3 separate regions of the Homo sapiens genome follow, and regions 2 and 3 are each linked to region 1. Evidence: promoter capture Hi-C in 16 types of primary human blood cells and fetal thymus (Javierre and others, 2016). All regions are on one chromosome and are shown on one strand. Each heading gives the region's core, a stretch centred on a gene start or on the middle of the fragment in contact. The rest is flanking DNA. Distances are from core to core; before and after follow the strand shown. Region 1 holds the start of CCDC71L (coiled-coil domain containing 71 like). Region 2 has its middle 6.4 kb from the start of SYPL1. Region 3 overlaps HBP1 (HMG-box transcription factor 1).

What was found. The method cuts DNA at HindIII sites, captures the fragments that hold promoters and counts their contacts. A CHiCAGO score of 5 or more calls a contact.
Region 2: a fragment that was not itself captured here is called in contact with the fragment with the promoter of CCDC71L in region 1 in 1 of 17 cell types (neutrophils); the score reaches 5.3 in neutrophils.
Region 3: a contact is called between a fragment that was not itself captured here and the fragment with the promoter of CCDC71L in region 1, in 1 of 17 cell types (fetal thymus). The highest score is 5.4, in fetal thymus.

The regions. Positions count from the first base shown.
Region 1 is chr7:106,658,496-106,663,515 of GRCh38, forward strand. CCDC71L (coiled-coil domain containing 71 like) reads right to left here and starts at 2,663. Exons shown (of 1, transcript NM_175884.6): 1 at 1-2,663. The coding sequence starts at 2,401. The coding sequence ends at 1,694. RefSeq lists an enhancer at 1,437-1,486 and a silencer at 1,837-2,106. The HindIII fragment of the contact is 5,408 bases long and covers 1,128-5,020 here.
Region 2 is chr7:106,116,186-106,121,205 of GRCh38, forward strand. No RefSeq gene overlaps it. Among named protein-coding and RNA genes, the nearest start is that of SYPL1, 6.4 kb to the left of the region's middle. The HindIII fragment of the contact is 4,065 bases long and covers 729-4,793 here.
Region 3 is chr7:107,172,076-107,177,095 of GRCh38, forward strand. The region is part of intron 1 of HBP1 (HMG-box transcription factor 1); the gene reads left to right. Among named protein-coding and RNA genes, the nearest start is that of HBP1, 5.6 kb to the left of the region's middle. The HindIII fragment of the contact is 5,805 bases long and covers 125-5,020 here.

The DNA.
Region 1 (5,020 bases), core at 1,413-3,912:
AAAATTGTAACTCTCATTATTCTCCTAAAAAGCTGCCAAGCAGAGATAAGCTTTAGTATTAAAGATTTCACATGTCAAGTTCCAGCCCAGTATGGATCGTTTCATGGCAGAATACTTAAATTTGAAATAATAGTGGTACAAAAACACTACTTGACCCTTTAGGTATTGCAGTAAAAGCTGGCTGTGGCACTGCTGGCTAAAAACTATTAAGTTTTCCTGCCACAAATGACCAAAGGCACTTGGATAATCAAGAATTCCACACTGGGCCATATGGTATAAACACTATAAAAGCGTAAAGAAGGGTCAGTATTCTGTGTGTCTCGCCTGTTTGATTCCTGTGGTCTTCAGCTGTCAAAGACCTAGAACTGCAAACATATAATGAGTGGCAAAAAGGTTAAAAAAAATGTTGGGACAAAAAAATCAACTAAAAATCAACTAATTTTCATTATGTTTGTAAAACTGATGAATATTAGTCTAGACATTTCTTGTTATCCAACAACAAAAACAAAAAGGAAATAGATTTCGCCCAAAGTAACCTTAACCAGTTATTTGATACCAAGAAATGCCTCCACCCCTCTTGATCATTAATAGTTCTAAGAATTCTAATGGGTATTCTGTTTATCATTTTAGTGATAATGTTTACACACATCCATCTCTCCTATGCAACTCCCATTTTAAAATACATTATCCTTGTAAAATACATTACAAGGATAATGTATTTTAAAATACTTTAACGCATAATATTCCTAGATTTGTATGTTAGACCAGGACAGGGGGCCAAATCATCTCCAGTCGGATTCCAGTGACTCCTGTAACCAAAACCAGTTCTTCACAATTTATTCATTTTTTTTAATCACACACCATATGGTTTCAATGCATTTTTTTATTCAATTCAAAAGAATTTAACAAGTTAACTTTTCCTAAACAAAAGTTTTCATGTGTATTCTACCATTTTTAGGAGCTCAGTAAATATAAACATTGTTTCAATACAAAACCTTTAAAAATACCTTGAAAATGTTTAAACAGTTGTATTTTGCATGTCTTTGTTTGTAATCACTGAGCCCATACAAATCCTTGCACTACTAACAGTCACAAGCTTGAACCTCTTAAAAAATATCCTCGATCAAAGCTTTGGAATCCAGTAAAAATTAGGAAACGAGTGGGCTTCAGAATACCCTGAGCACAAACTAGTGCAACACCACATGTTCGAACTTCTGTCCACAAAGAGGGGTGACAGTGAAATAGAAAAAGGGGGAGATAAAGAACAAGTAAATTCTGGCTTTATTACACAAGCACGAAACCAAATTCCTTTGGAAAAATAATGTCTTCGGAGGACTTCCAGACCAGTGAGGTAGAGTCCAACAGTGAGAAAACGGATCTGCCCCTAAGGTCCTGGAGACGTCTCAATCGGTGGTCAGGAAGAAAGGGACCTCCCCTGCGGGTCCAGCTGTCCCCTCCCTCCGCAGGCCGGGTACGGGAGGCAGCAGAGGGCACACCTGCCCCAGCGTCCAAGACGACCGCGCCGCGGCCCGGGACAGGGACAACCATCCGGCAACTTCTTCGCGCGTAAAGTGCATTGGGGGCCGGGGTCCTGGCCGGATCTGTAAACACTCGACTGACACTTGTTCATTCCTCCGGGCGGAAGGCCTGTCCCAAGGTCGGGGCCGGCAGGAGGCGCCCTGGAGGCCGCACCTCATGCCCGGGGCACCGGGAAGCGGCGGAGCCTCACCATGGGTTCCAGGTTCACTCGCAGGACCTGGCGCGCCCTGCGCCGCGCTGCCGCCAGGCTGCGCTCGCCCCACACGTCGCTGCCGACGCGGATGGTGGGGAAGGTGGTCAGCGTCGGGGTGGCCGCCCTCCAGATCTCCTCCAAGGTGCGGCCCCCGAAGCAGGGCCCGGGGGCCACGGGCTTGGCCGGGCAGCTCTCCTCGGGGGGCGGCGGCGGTGGGGGTGGCGGCCGGGGCTTCCTCCTGCGGGCAGCGGCCGCCCGGGCTCCGCGGCGCCTCCTCCTGGCCGCTGCGCGCGGAACCGGCCGGCGCGCCTGGCCGCGGGCTGTAGGGGGCCCCGGGGGGTCGGGTACCAGGGCCCGGCAGGAGGAGTAGCCGTAGACGTCCTTGCTGCGCAGGATGTGCGGGGAGAACTGGTGCTTGAGGCTGCAGAGGAAGCTCCAGAGCTCCGCGTCCGAGCTCATGAACTCCGTGCTGCGGGGCATGAAGAGCTTGAAGGCGTCGCCCAGCGCCTTGGTGCTGTCAGCCAGCGACAGTTGCGACCGCGAGTACACCACCTTCTCCTCCCGCGCCTCCAACCCAGCCCCGTCTTCTGCCCTAAAGTCGCCGCCCCGGGCGGCCGTGGCCGGGGCGACCGGGCGCCGGCGCCGCCGCCTCTTCATACTGCGCCGCATCGAAGGCCGCTCCGGGCCACTCACGCTCGCCGGGTCCCACTACTGCCGCCGCCGTCCCAGTCCGCGTTGGCTCCGCGGCGGCGGCTGCTGCTGGCGTCTCTCGCTACTTTTCTCGCCTCCGCCGCCGCCCCTCCCCCTCCGAGGGCGGAGGACGCGGGCGAATATCCTGCTGCCCGGTACAAGATGGCGGCCGGCGCCCACCCCTGGGCTTTGTCATTGGACGGCGCCTCGCCCCCCTGGTTTCTCTTTCTTCTCCTCTCTTGCCTCTTTTCGCCGGCTGCCTTTCTTTAAATGTGCCCGCCTCAGGCCCCTCCCACCGCAGCCCCGACTCCACCCATTGGGTGCTCTCAGAAGAGGGGCGGGGACTGATGGGGGAGAGGCCAGTTCCTGGAAGATGGTGCTGGGGTGGGTGATGGCCTTTGAACGTAAGTCAACGGTTGGGTGGATCTAGGAGGGCTGCCACGTCTAGAGTAAGAGGGTGGATGTTGGCTACACCATGGGAAGAGTGACTCTTAGAGTGAGGGGGTGTGCAGTTGTGGATTGAGCTGGGAGCTCTACCAGTGTGGATAACAAAGGGAGATTTCCCTGAAGGATGTTCCTGGTATCATCACAGCTAGGGAATTTGGGTTTAAGTCTAGGGGAAATGGGCCTTTCGCAATTCCCATCCACCCTCTCAAAGGCCTCTTCTGGCATCTTCATTCAAAACTCTTCCCTGTCTTGACCCCAGCCCATCTCAAGAAGCCAGTAGTAATCCAGAATCATTCAGGTAATGTGCGTGGCTGGCAGCTGAGAGATTTTAGTCTCCCTCTGGACACTGGAGCCATCTTCATATTTAAGAGAGACCCTGCTTATCCAGAAAGCAAAACATGTCATACCCTATAAAACTAAATACTCTTTGCTCAAGTTGATCAAAGATCTATTACAATAAAGCCATTCTGTGAAAAGAAAATATAGTTTTAAATACACAGTTCTTTATGGATGCCAATTCGTTTTTCATTTAGTTTTAAAATGTCAAAGCCACCCCTATCATTTAGAAAGGATGCATCATCGCAGACAACAGATAAGGTTTCGTTGAAAAACACAAATTGTTCAAAACACATTACCTTTTGTATTGGGAGGAGAGTAGTGGACATCCTTTAGTCATCTTTTCTGTCCTCTATACCTAACTCAGTTCCTGTCAGGTAGTGGACACTCAATGTGTTTGCCGAATGAATCAATGAAATACCACCGATTATCCCAAATAGAGTCAGAAATGTTGAAACTGCTTAGAACAGGACAATTAGATATTTTATATTGCAATTTTCACAGAACTCCTTTAAATTTCTTAAGGTTAAAAGAAAAAATCTCCTGACACTTAGAACTTTGAGGTGGGCATGTGGATTTTACCCAGGAAACATCTTATTTTGCAGTAGTGAACAAATAAAGTATAGGAGTTTTGTGATTTACATGTAGTTGCTAATGGTTTCCTCAAATATTTGACCTGAAAGAGACCTAGTTCATTCTCCTTATTTAACAGGTGAGGAAATCTGTACCATAGAGGTTCAGTAACACAGCTGGCTGATAGCAGAACTGGGATTCTAAATCCTTCGATTTCTAATCTAGTGATCTTTGTATTTCACTGAAGGTTTTTCAAACTGTGCTGTCCAGACTCTAAGGAATTCAATAGAACATGCTTTATGCATAAGTAGAATGACGAAGGACAGAGCTGTACCCCTATTCCTACTTCCACCCCACCCAGAATTGAGCAGTTTTTCTCTGTCTTATAATAGATTTATGAATAATATTTTGTTTGTTCAGTTTCAATAAAACCTAAAATAAATAATTTGAAAGCTCTACACCAGAGATGTCAAATTCTTGAAAGCTCTCACCACACAATGAGTTTATGGCAAAAATAAAACTCCACACAATGGGCTTATGGCAAAAATAAAACATCTAACCAGGAACCAGCTCTCTAGCAAAATCATGGTAACTTTCTGAATAGAAAATCATTTTCCTAGAAAAGCACACTCTGATCTCAGAACAAGATTACAGAGCCAAATACCAGCTTCCTAAATCCTTATAAAGGAATGATATAGCAACAACTCTTTACATCACAATTTGCTCTTTCCGTAATTCTGAGACACATAGTAAAGTGAAATTTGAATAATTTCCATTGGAATACCCAAAATCTAGAGTGAGCCATGAGAAAGTTAGGGGGGCTTCATAATGAAAAGCAAGGATAAAACAAGGATTAAAGTAGACCTGGCTTTTCATATTGGAATCCCCTCCCTTCCTTGATAATCATCATTTTATAAATTCTTCAGGGTCTTTACCACATAAATATATTCCAGACATTTACATAAATGTATAGAACTTATTTCAATTAAGAAGATAAACCTTTTTTAAACACAATTTTGGTTCTAAGAAAACATAAGATCTCAACTTGCCAAGTATTCAAGAGTTCATTTTATAATGCATGCTCATTTAATTTACTTAAAACCAAACAATATTTTTTATGAAATACTTTTAGGAACTAATATCATGATAAAGTGCTTATGTTATCGTATACATTTAAATTTGACATTATTTGCTCTATTCTGTTTCCTCTATTATTTTTAATTTTTTCTTGACCTCCACCTT
Region 2 (5,020 bases), core at 1,511-4,010, 540 kb before region 1:
GCGAAAGAGGAGCTGACTGCAAAGAGTCAAAAGCTTGCTAGGGATTTTATAGGATGGTGCTTGTGCTCTGCGCTTGAAGAAGACTTTGTGCAGTATTGGTAATGCCGAGGTTGCAGTGAGCTAACTTGCATTTTTCTGTCAGCCAAGAGTCAGGTGGTAGCTCGGCACAGGAAGATTGTGAGTGATTTACACATGAGGGCTATGTGTCCTGGACCATGAAGAAAGGCAGACTTATAGCTTATCTATCTGCTTTCTCGTTTTGCTTTCCCCTGGTCCTGCCAGCCTGACTCCTTCTCCTGAATTAGGACTCTACCTTTCTTCACACCCTGACAGCAACAATGACTAATCTTTGGCATGTGGTTAAAGGTCTCATCTTCCAACTGCTTCTTGCTGACCAGGGGTGTATAGTTGGCCCTACCTAGGATTGTTAGTCGGTCAGGAGGTTATGTACACCTAAATCCCTGAGTTGGGACTTAAATTGGTCAGGGTTGCTATGAGACTATGGGAGAACAGCATTTGTAGCCTAAAATTTTGTTCTGCTGCATTCAAAGGAAAGTTATGTAGCTGATACCTTTGCTGTAGTACTGTTTTGGTTTGAAATTGTTGTATCCTAGAAAACACAAAATCAGATGTAGAATTAACAATACAGTATGCAAATAAACAAACTAATATGAGCTTTATTATAGGCAGAAGAAGTTGAGCAACCCATGGCCAAATTTAACTGGAGAAGCTTTGAAATAGTTGTGCTGAAAAGGAATCTTGAGGAACTCTGTTTTGAAGGCCCTTTAATATTTTTATGTTGTCTGTTATCTTTTCTAAACTTTCTTCTACCTGACCTGAGTTACTGATGTAAAAGCAACAAGTTTTATTTAACAGCATGCAGGTGCCTCCTGCTTCAGCAGGAAGCACCTCCTAAGTGAGTTGGTTCTGCAAAACATACCCTGCCAGCGAGTTCAGGGCCTGCCATTGGCCTTCAATGGCCGTGATTGTAGCTTCCCAAGATTGCTGGACTAGGATGGTGAGATTATGAATACTGCACTTAAGCATGGGTATATCTGCAAACCAAAAGATTGCACTGGCTACAGAATGTCCTAGGTCATTTTTCTCTATGACAGGATTATTATTGGCGAGGATGCTAAATGATGGGAGACTAAGTACTGCTTCTGATGTCCTTTGGAGGGACCAACATAAGAAGGATTTTAAATTTGGAGCTTGGCTAGAGGTTACGAAGTCTGAGGAGTTATATATGTGCACTCCAGATATTGCTGCAACTGTAGTGTAAGTGCCTCTTCACTTAATAGACAAGGCTAGAAATATGTTAGATCTGTATAAAAAGAAGAACCCAGTTCCTTTTAATGAAACTCCTGAAGAGGAACCTCACAACCAGGCATAGGTGTGATTAGTTTAGATTCCCGTATGGTTTGCATAAATAGAGGGATCCCATGGTCCCCTGGGATTAAATGTGGATGGGCAGTGACCCAAAAAGTAGTTATCCACGCATAAGGGGGTAAAAGTTTGACTTGTAGTGTTATGTGAATGTGGGGCCTGACAGATATGATTTTTGAATATTAATGGGATAAGAGAAAATTGAGGAAAAGATGTAGATGTATTAGTGAAGTTGAGAAGTCGTCCAGTTTTGACTGCTATTTCTATATGTTCCATCCTGGCTGCTGAACTATTTATAGGCATAAAGGAATTGTTATAAATCTTTCTGGCATGAACTTTGTTGTTTCCTCACCATAGAGAAAAACTGTGGAGGTACACAGTGAACTTGTTAAGAGTCATTGCATGGCTTCCATTCTGGTTTGTTTGATCATAGCTGACAGTGTAATTGCAATGGACTTGTGTGTTAAAGCCCCTGGGAAAGGGCCAGACTCCTTGGAATTTCTAGCATTATAAGCCATCTCTGGTGCCCTCCCTATTTGCTCGGTCACCGTGGGTGATTGGCATGAGGGATCGATTGGCCTAGGTTTACCTCATAAACCTGTATTTTTGGTGTGCGTGTACCTGGCGTAGTTGAATCCAGAGTATTTGGCTTGTGTGTTAGCAATTTCTTCTATAGATAGTGGAACTGCTAGGAGTGTAATGTCATTCTCGAGTGACTGCCCACGTGAGCATATCCAGCGGTTAGTGCTGTGTGTTGTGTTAGCAACCTGAGATATTACTGGTTATAGTGGGTGCTTGGTGTAGCCATGGAAGCAATAGTTAGCCATGACAGACAGAATAAACACAGAAGAATATTTAAGGAAAATGACAATATACAGTAAACTTAGGGAGACAGGAAAGAAGAAAGGCTGTAAAGAGTATGAAAAAAACCAAACAATTAGTACCTCAGCATATCAATGTTGTGGCATGGGGGTAAATAACATTGCTAGGACAAAGATAAAGAAATTTCCCCTGGGCTGTAGTTTTGGAGGTCGGCCTGCAAATAGCAATTGTGTACTATCTCCCTTATAAAAGCATTAATATCAACAGGGTGAAGCTGCTCAAGAGAGGCAGTTGGATAGTTACTGAGAACTTGCAGTAGAATTGAATAAAAAGAGTCAGCTTTAAGAATAACGTTTAAGGGCCAGTCACGGTGACTCACTTTGGGAGTCCCAGCACTTTGGGAGGCCAAAGTGGGCAGATCACCTGAGGTCAGGAGTTTGAAACCAGCCTGGTCAAAACGGTGAAACCCCTTCTCTCTTTTTTTTTTTTATTATTATACTTTAAGTTCTAGGGTACATGTGCACAATGTGCAGGTTTGTTACATATGTATACATGTGCCATGATGGTGTGCTGCACCCATTAACTCGTCATTTACATTAGGTGTATCTCCTAATGCTATCCCTCCCCACTCCCCCTACCTCATGACAGGCCCCGGTGTGTGATGTTCCCCTTCCTGTGTCCAAGTGTTCTCATTGTTCAATTCCCACCTATGAGTGAGAACATGAGGTGTTTGGTTTTCTATCCTTGTGATAGTTTGCTGAGAATGATGAGGTGAAACCCCTTCTCTACTAAAAAAACTACAAAAATTAGCTGGGCGTGGTGACACGCACCTGTAGTCCCAGCTACTTGGGAGGCTGAGGCAGGAAAATCACCTGAACCTGGGAGGTGGAGGTTGCAGTGAGCCAAGATCAGGCCACTGCACTCCAGCCTGGGCGACAGAGTGAGTCTCTGTCTCAAAAAAAAAAAAAAAAAAAAAAAAAAGAATAAGGTTTAAAGGAGGTGCTGGATTTATTTCCATTAACTTTAAGGGAGATTTAAAAATTCTAGGTTGTTTGGTTTAACAAAACCTCTTTTACCTTTTTTAAAAATTTAAATGAGTTTCCAATGTTTACCTTCTAGTTAGAACGTAAATAATGAGTATCATCTCAGCACTAGCAGCTGAGTAACAGCAGATTTAAAGCAGGCAGAAAAAAAGAGAGGAAGATAGAGAGCTTTAGAAGACTCTACTTAACTCTATAGTGCAGGTTAACCATTTGAGCTATGAATTTTTTTGTTGTAGTTTTTCCATCAGTTTAAAATGTGCACAAAATTATAATAGTGAAAGAGATCCGATCTAGCCCACCTGCCCCTCTTGCCTTTAGCTTGTAAGCTGCCTTAATCATTCCAGGGCTTTTGGGCTGAGTTAATTTTAGAAGACATCTGGGTTATAGTTTAATGATAATAGCCCTTCCCCCAAACTCAAACACCTTTTTAAAGCTAATGAGTGGCCATCAGGCTAGGGGGTGGAGAGGAGCCTGATTTCTGCTAAGGCGTAGCCAGCCATTCCTGTAGATAACACCACTATTGTAGGTTGGCTTTTTGAGGTATCTTTTCAGGTTTTTTGAATGTCTGACACCCATGGCTCTACCTGTACCCACCAATCCCACTCCTGTGACCTCACCCAAAAGCGATTCAGTGTGCAGGAGGACAGCTTCCACTCCCTATGATTTCATCTCTACCCCAAACAATCAGCAGCAACCCCAGCCACCCCCACCCCTCTCCTAAACTGCCTTTGAAAAACCCCTAAACTACGATCTTTGGACGAGGCACGTGGCATGGCTGGCCTCATGTCTATTAAACTTTTTCTGTACTGTAATGCTGTACTCTTTCTTTGTACAGCAGGCAGGAAAAACTCCTCGGGTGGTTACACAACCAACCCAAAACTCAGGACTCAAACCCCTGTATGGCTGTTGTTCTACTGGATGGGCCTGGGGCTCAGATGTTCCTCTCATACAAGGAATGAACCTCTGGTTTGGCTACTCCTGTATTCCCTCACTGGGAACACACAGTCAGGTGCGTCTGTCCCACAGGGCCATTCTAAGGGTATGTTCAAGTTATTCCTCTCAGGGGCATTTACCCTACACTTTGACAAGAGGTTTAACCTTCCTAAGTTTCCATTTTCTCATTCCCATTTTGCAGACAGGAAATGAGAGTTGTAGTGGGATTTAAATTTTATAATCATAAGAGATCATTTAGAAGAGTGCCTGGTACAGACTAAGAACTGAGGAAATGTTACCCGTTCTTGCCACTGTGTTCCAGAAACAGTGGAGTGGGTGCATCAGTCTTCTGATTGGGTGGGTAGGAAGCAGCTAAGACTTAGTGCTAGAACAAAAGTCATTTAAGGAAATCAGACTTTGGTTAGAGCGAATTAGAGTTGTAAGGAAGAATGTTCCATTGATAAAATGAAAGAAATATGAAATGAGAATATAATTCTTGAAAGCAAATAAAATGCAGTTTTTCATTACTGAAAACTATGTGGGGCAGAGGTCATGCTAATCCTCCCTGTGTGGGTCTACTTTTAGTCTATTTGTGTCATCACCATTTCAAGCTTAGCTCACATTTAAGCAGTGAATAGACAGGGAAAGTCCTCTAATTTGTAGCAGTTAATTTTATTTTTATTTTTATATTTTTGAGACTGAGTCTCACTCTGTCACCCAGGCTGGAGTGCAGTGGCCCAATCTTGGCTCACTACAACCTCCGCCTCCTGGGTTCAAGCGATTCTCGTGCCTCAGCCTCAAAAGTAGCTGGGATTACAGGCATGCGCCACTGCACC
Region 3 (5,020 bases), core at 1,777-4,276, 510 kb after region 1:
TATCAGCATTTACTTTGGTGCTTCATAATTTCTACTATCATTTTCTATAGAGAAACTAGAAACATAATTTTCTCCATAATTGTGGTTGAGTTTTTAAAAGTTATTGATCATAGCTTTAAAAAAAAGCTTTTCCCACAAGTTTTTATAGATAATGTAAAAATGTTTAGGAGTTTATCTTATACTTTTGAGGAGCCATTTAACCACTTTAAAGCAAAATATTGTTTGTGCTTACTCGACTGATAAATTATAGAATGAAGTTTTGATTTCACTTTCTAGTTTCATCTTAGTTTTGTAAACTCAGTGAACCACATTATGGAGAAAATTATGTTTCTAGTTTCTCCATAGAAAATGATAATAGAAATTATGAAGCACCAAAGTTTAGGAAAACAAGTTTCATAAGAATTTTTAGATGATGTCGTTTTAATATGTGACTTATCTTATATGACTCATCTTAAATACTTATTTGAATTGACAGTACTCCTAAAACAGTTTGTGGATGACTGCTTCTGCTATTAATGGGTTTTCTATTGTCTTGATCAATATAGTATTTCATGTTGAATGAGCATGAAATTACTAAGAACTTGTATAGATGTGGATTGGGCAGTGTCTGTGGGATGTAATATCTTTTATACCTACAACAATTCTGATAGGTAGATAGGTACTAGTCCCATTTTTTTTTACTTATTTTTAAAAATTTTTTAGAGATGGGATCTTGCTATGTTGCCCTGGTTGGTCTTGAACTCCTGGCTCAAGCGATCTTCCTGTCTTGGTCTCCCAAAGTGCTGGCATTGCAGGCCTGAGTGACTGGGCCTGGCCACTAGTCTTATTTACAAATAAAAAAAACAGGTCCAAATAAGAAAACAGGCCTAGAGATTTAATTGTTCAGGGCCATGAAAGTGGTAAGTGACCAAAACGAATCCACTAAGGGTTTTTGTTGTTGTTTTGTCTTTTCTTGTAGCCCGGTGGCAAACTAGAGTTGTAGACAAATACCTGTGAAATCTTTTGAAGTTTTGTTGAAAATACTCTAAAAGAACAGCATTACAGCCTCAGAGATGCTTTTGGTATAGAAAGTTGCATTTAATATACTTTGTTATGGAGGCTTGTTTTAGCATGTAATTATGTAATCCATTTAAAATACCTCAGTTTCAGAGATAGAAATTAATTGCAAATTACCTTTTCTTCACCTACTCTTTGAAAACAATTTGAGCGTGTAGTCTGGACTGGTTATGGAAATCCTTCAGGATTAGGGGAGAGCATATAGAAGATCCTGCTGTGGATTCCATGATGATGATGGAAAAGTAAGGATTCAGGGAATAATAGGCACTTGAAAGCAGGAAGTAACCCATGCTGGCTTATACCTTTTGTCTTTTTTCCCTCTCAGCTCTCGCCTTCAAAAAGAAAATGATCCCATTTAGTCATCATAGTCCTGTTTTCCTCATCCATAATAATACTTTATTCACAGAGTTGTTCTGAGTTTAAAATAAAATTAGATGAAGTACATGGAAGTGCTGTGTAGGTAAGCATTTTGTAAAACTGTTTCCTTCTTCATTCATTGAGACTTAGGTTTTTCTAGTTCTCTCTTTCTCTCCTGTCTTAAGATTTTGTGGATATTTGCTTCTGGAAGTTTGCATACCAAAAGCAATGGGGCATTCTAAGAAAGTAAAATTTGTAACACTGAACATGACATTTCAGAGTACAACTTCTGGAAAATAGATACTGAGAATCACTGATCTCGTGAAGAGATGACATGTGCAGAGTTAACTAAAATACAAGGCAAGCTGTGTTGAATCTGATACCAAAGCAGTATACAAAAGCATGAATGAACAATAGGGTTAGCTCTACCAGGAGATATTTGAAAGAGGAGCTTGTTTATCAAAATGAGTATGTAATTGGTATAATATATGTAGGGGAGTAAGAAATGTAAGGGCTTCCCTGGTATTCCTTTATTGTATTGGAGACCTTGCTTTCTTTCTTCAGAATAGTTGAGAATAGACAGAAGAGACAGAAAATTTCCATTTGTATGTAGTTTTGAATTTTGTTTTCATATATTGAATTCTCAGAATAGCCCTGTGAGGTAAGTAGAGGGACCGACCGTGAGTCTGAGATTGAGTGAGTGACCTGTCCCCGGTTACACAGCTAGTAAGAGTGAAACTGAAGTCTGTTGTCTTGAAGTGTAGCTTCTCTTACTGTATGGTAGCTTTACAGTAGCAGAACTTCAGTTTTCTCAGGACCAAACTTCTGATAGCCTTGAGCAATGAGAGGTGTGAACACATAGAACTTATATTCAGTAAATATTTATTTGGTTCTTTTGGTTATTTATAGGTAGCTCTGTTTTGAAATTAAAATAATGTCTTTTTCCAACTTCATTTAAGGAGTTTTGGGATGGTGGTTGATAACTAAGACAAAGTGCTGAAGAAATGATAGAAGTTGCAAAGAGACGTTAGTGTACTATACTTGGTGAATGTTGGAAACTGCAGGACCTGCTGTAGGGAAGAAAAAAGTTCTAGCTGGAAAGAATGAGGAAACCAAAGAGCTCTGCAGAGGGAGGGGGAAGACAAGACAGACTGCAGCTGTGCTTCTGTGGACCCCAAGAACAGCACTGTTCATACACAGAGGATAGCTCTGAAGAGAGATACCTGTGTAGTGCAGCTTCTAAATTTCATAATAAAGGTAAAAATGGGAAATGTTTTCAGTTCAGATAAGGTTGACTGTGCAGCTCACATCTGTATGTGAAGCATAGTACGGATATTCATAAGGATTTTTAGTTATCAAAATAGGTTAAATTATATTCTGTATACTTAAGATGCCAGAAATACTTCTATGGAAAGAGTTAAAATCTCCTATCTAAACTGTTAATATTAGGTGTTTAAAGAACTCACATAGTATGACTAGTTTCTCTCTTAAGAGTTAATAAATAAGGAATCTGCACTGAGAACCATTGCAAAGGAAGCTGGAGACGGGTGGCTTTCATAGAGACTGGGAATGTGAGTGCTCTCTTTAAAAAAAAAAATACCCTCCTTAAAATATTATAGGTGTTCCTGCATACTCATACAGTATTTCAGTATGATTTTGTCCATAGACTCAAAGAGACTGTTTTAAAGTATAGTTCTGATCATGTCAGACCTCTTTTAAAAAAAAAAATCATCAGTGGTTCTTCATTGTCTGATAATTGCTAATCATAACACTAGCCACTGTACATTGAAGGTTTGCTTTGTGTTAGGCTCTATTCTGAGCATTTTACATGATCTCACTGAGTTTTTGTAGCAGCCTGTGAGGTAGGTACTTTTATTGCCATTTTATAAACAAGGCATGAAGATTTTAAGTAAATTATTTAGGGTACATAGCTAGTAAGTGGCAAATCTGGTATTTAAACTCAGGCAGCCTGATTTCAGAGCCCCTATTCTTGTCTCTAAATAAATAAATAGTTTTCCTAAACTACAATTGAAGACTCTGATCCTAGACTACCTTTCCATATAGTAGTAGTAGTAGTAGTATAGCCTCAGTGTTCATGATCACATGACACACAAGGCCATCCTACTTTGTGGTAAAACTAGATTCTATATTCTGATCTCACTAGGACTTTGCCAGCTATATGAGTTTACTCATGTGAGTTTCTCTCATTGGGAGACCTCCCTCTCTTCTTTTTTTTTTTTTTTTTTGAGACGGAGTCTTGCTCTGTCGCCCAGGCTGGAATGCAGTGGCGCAATCCCAGCTCACTGCAAGCTCTGCCTCCCAGGTTCACGCCATTCTCCTGCCTCAGCCTCCCGAGTAGCTGGGACTACAGGCGCCCGCCACCATGCCTGGCTAATTTTTTGTATTTTTAGTAGAGACAGGGTTTCACCATGTTAGCCAGGATGGTCTCTATCCCCAGACCTCGTGATCTGCCCGCCTCAGCCTTCCAAAGTGCTGGGATTACAGGCGTGAGCCACCGCACCCGGCTTTTTTTCTTTTTTCATTTTTTTTTTTCGGAAATGGAGTCTCGCTCTGTTGCCCAAGCTGTAGTGCAGTGGTGCGATCTCGGCTCACTGCAACCTCTGTCTCCCGGGTTCAAGCGATTCTCCTGCCTCAGGTTGCTGAGTAGGTTGGATTACAGGCGCGTGCCACCATACCTGGCTAATTCTTGTATTTTTAGTAGAGACTGAGTTTCACCATGTTGGTCAGGCTGGTCTGGAACTCCTGACCTCGTGATCCGCCCTCCTCGGCTTCCCAAAGTGCTGGGATTACAGGCGTGAACCACTGATCTAGCCCCTTCTTTTCTTTTAACCCATTCATAGCCAAGTCCTGCTCTGTAGAACTATGGTCATTTGCTTATATCTTTCCACTAAAGTCAGACTCATGATGAATTGTTCATTAGTGAGATCCAGCATTGCAACTAATACAATGCCCTGTACATAGTATTTATTAAATAAATGATTTTTTTAATAAGTAGGAATTTAGCAACCATTTTTAGCCCAGTGTATCTCAGTATTCTGCACCTGGAAACAAAAACTAGTGCACAAAGCCATACCCCACACCAAACAGATCAGATCCTCTGGGGATGGGGCCTGGACAACATTTTTTTAAGCATATGTATGATTTCGTGTGCCACAGAGTAGAGAATCACTGATGAAATTAAATTTGCTCCATTTTTTTTTTTTTTTTTTTCAGGGAGAGAGTGGAGGCTTAAAATCGTGATTTCATACTTGAGAAATAGATTTGTGTTACACATTTTCTCTAGTCGCTAGTTCTGTGGGGGAAATTGTTATATCCTAGCATATTTGCTGTAACTATATGCTAAGACTGATTGTGATCAGTACATTGTACTAAACTGGAGAAGCGTTAATTTCTTCCAAATTTCATCTTTTAGGGGCTTGAAGTAATGGCATGATACATGATTTTTATGGAGATGTGCTGGATGACTTGTCATAATATCTCCTAGGGAGGAGACTGTTGAAACTGAATAGCTATCTGGTTTCCACCTGTTAATTATGTATTTTCAGTAGCTGTTCTATTTAGGACATTACAGACCCAAAGTATGTTT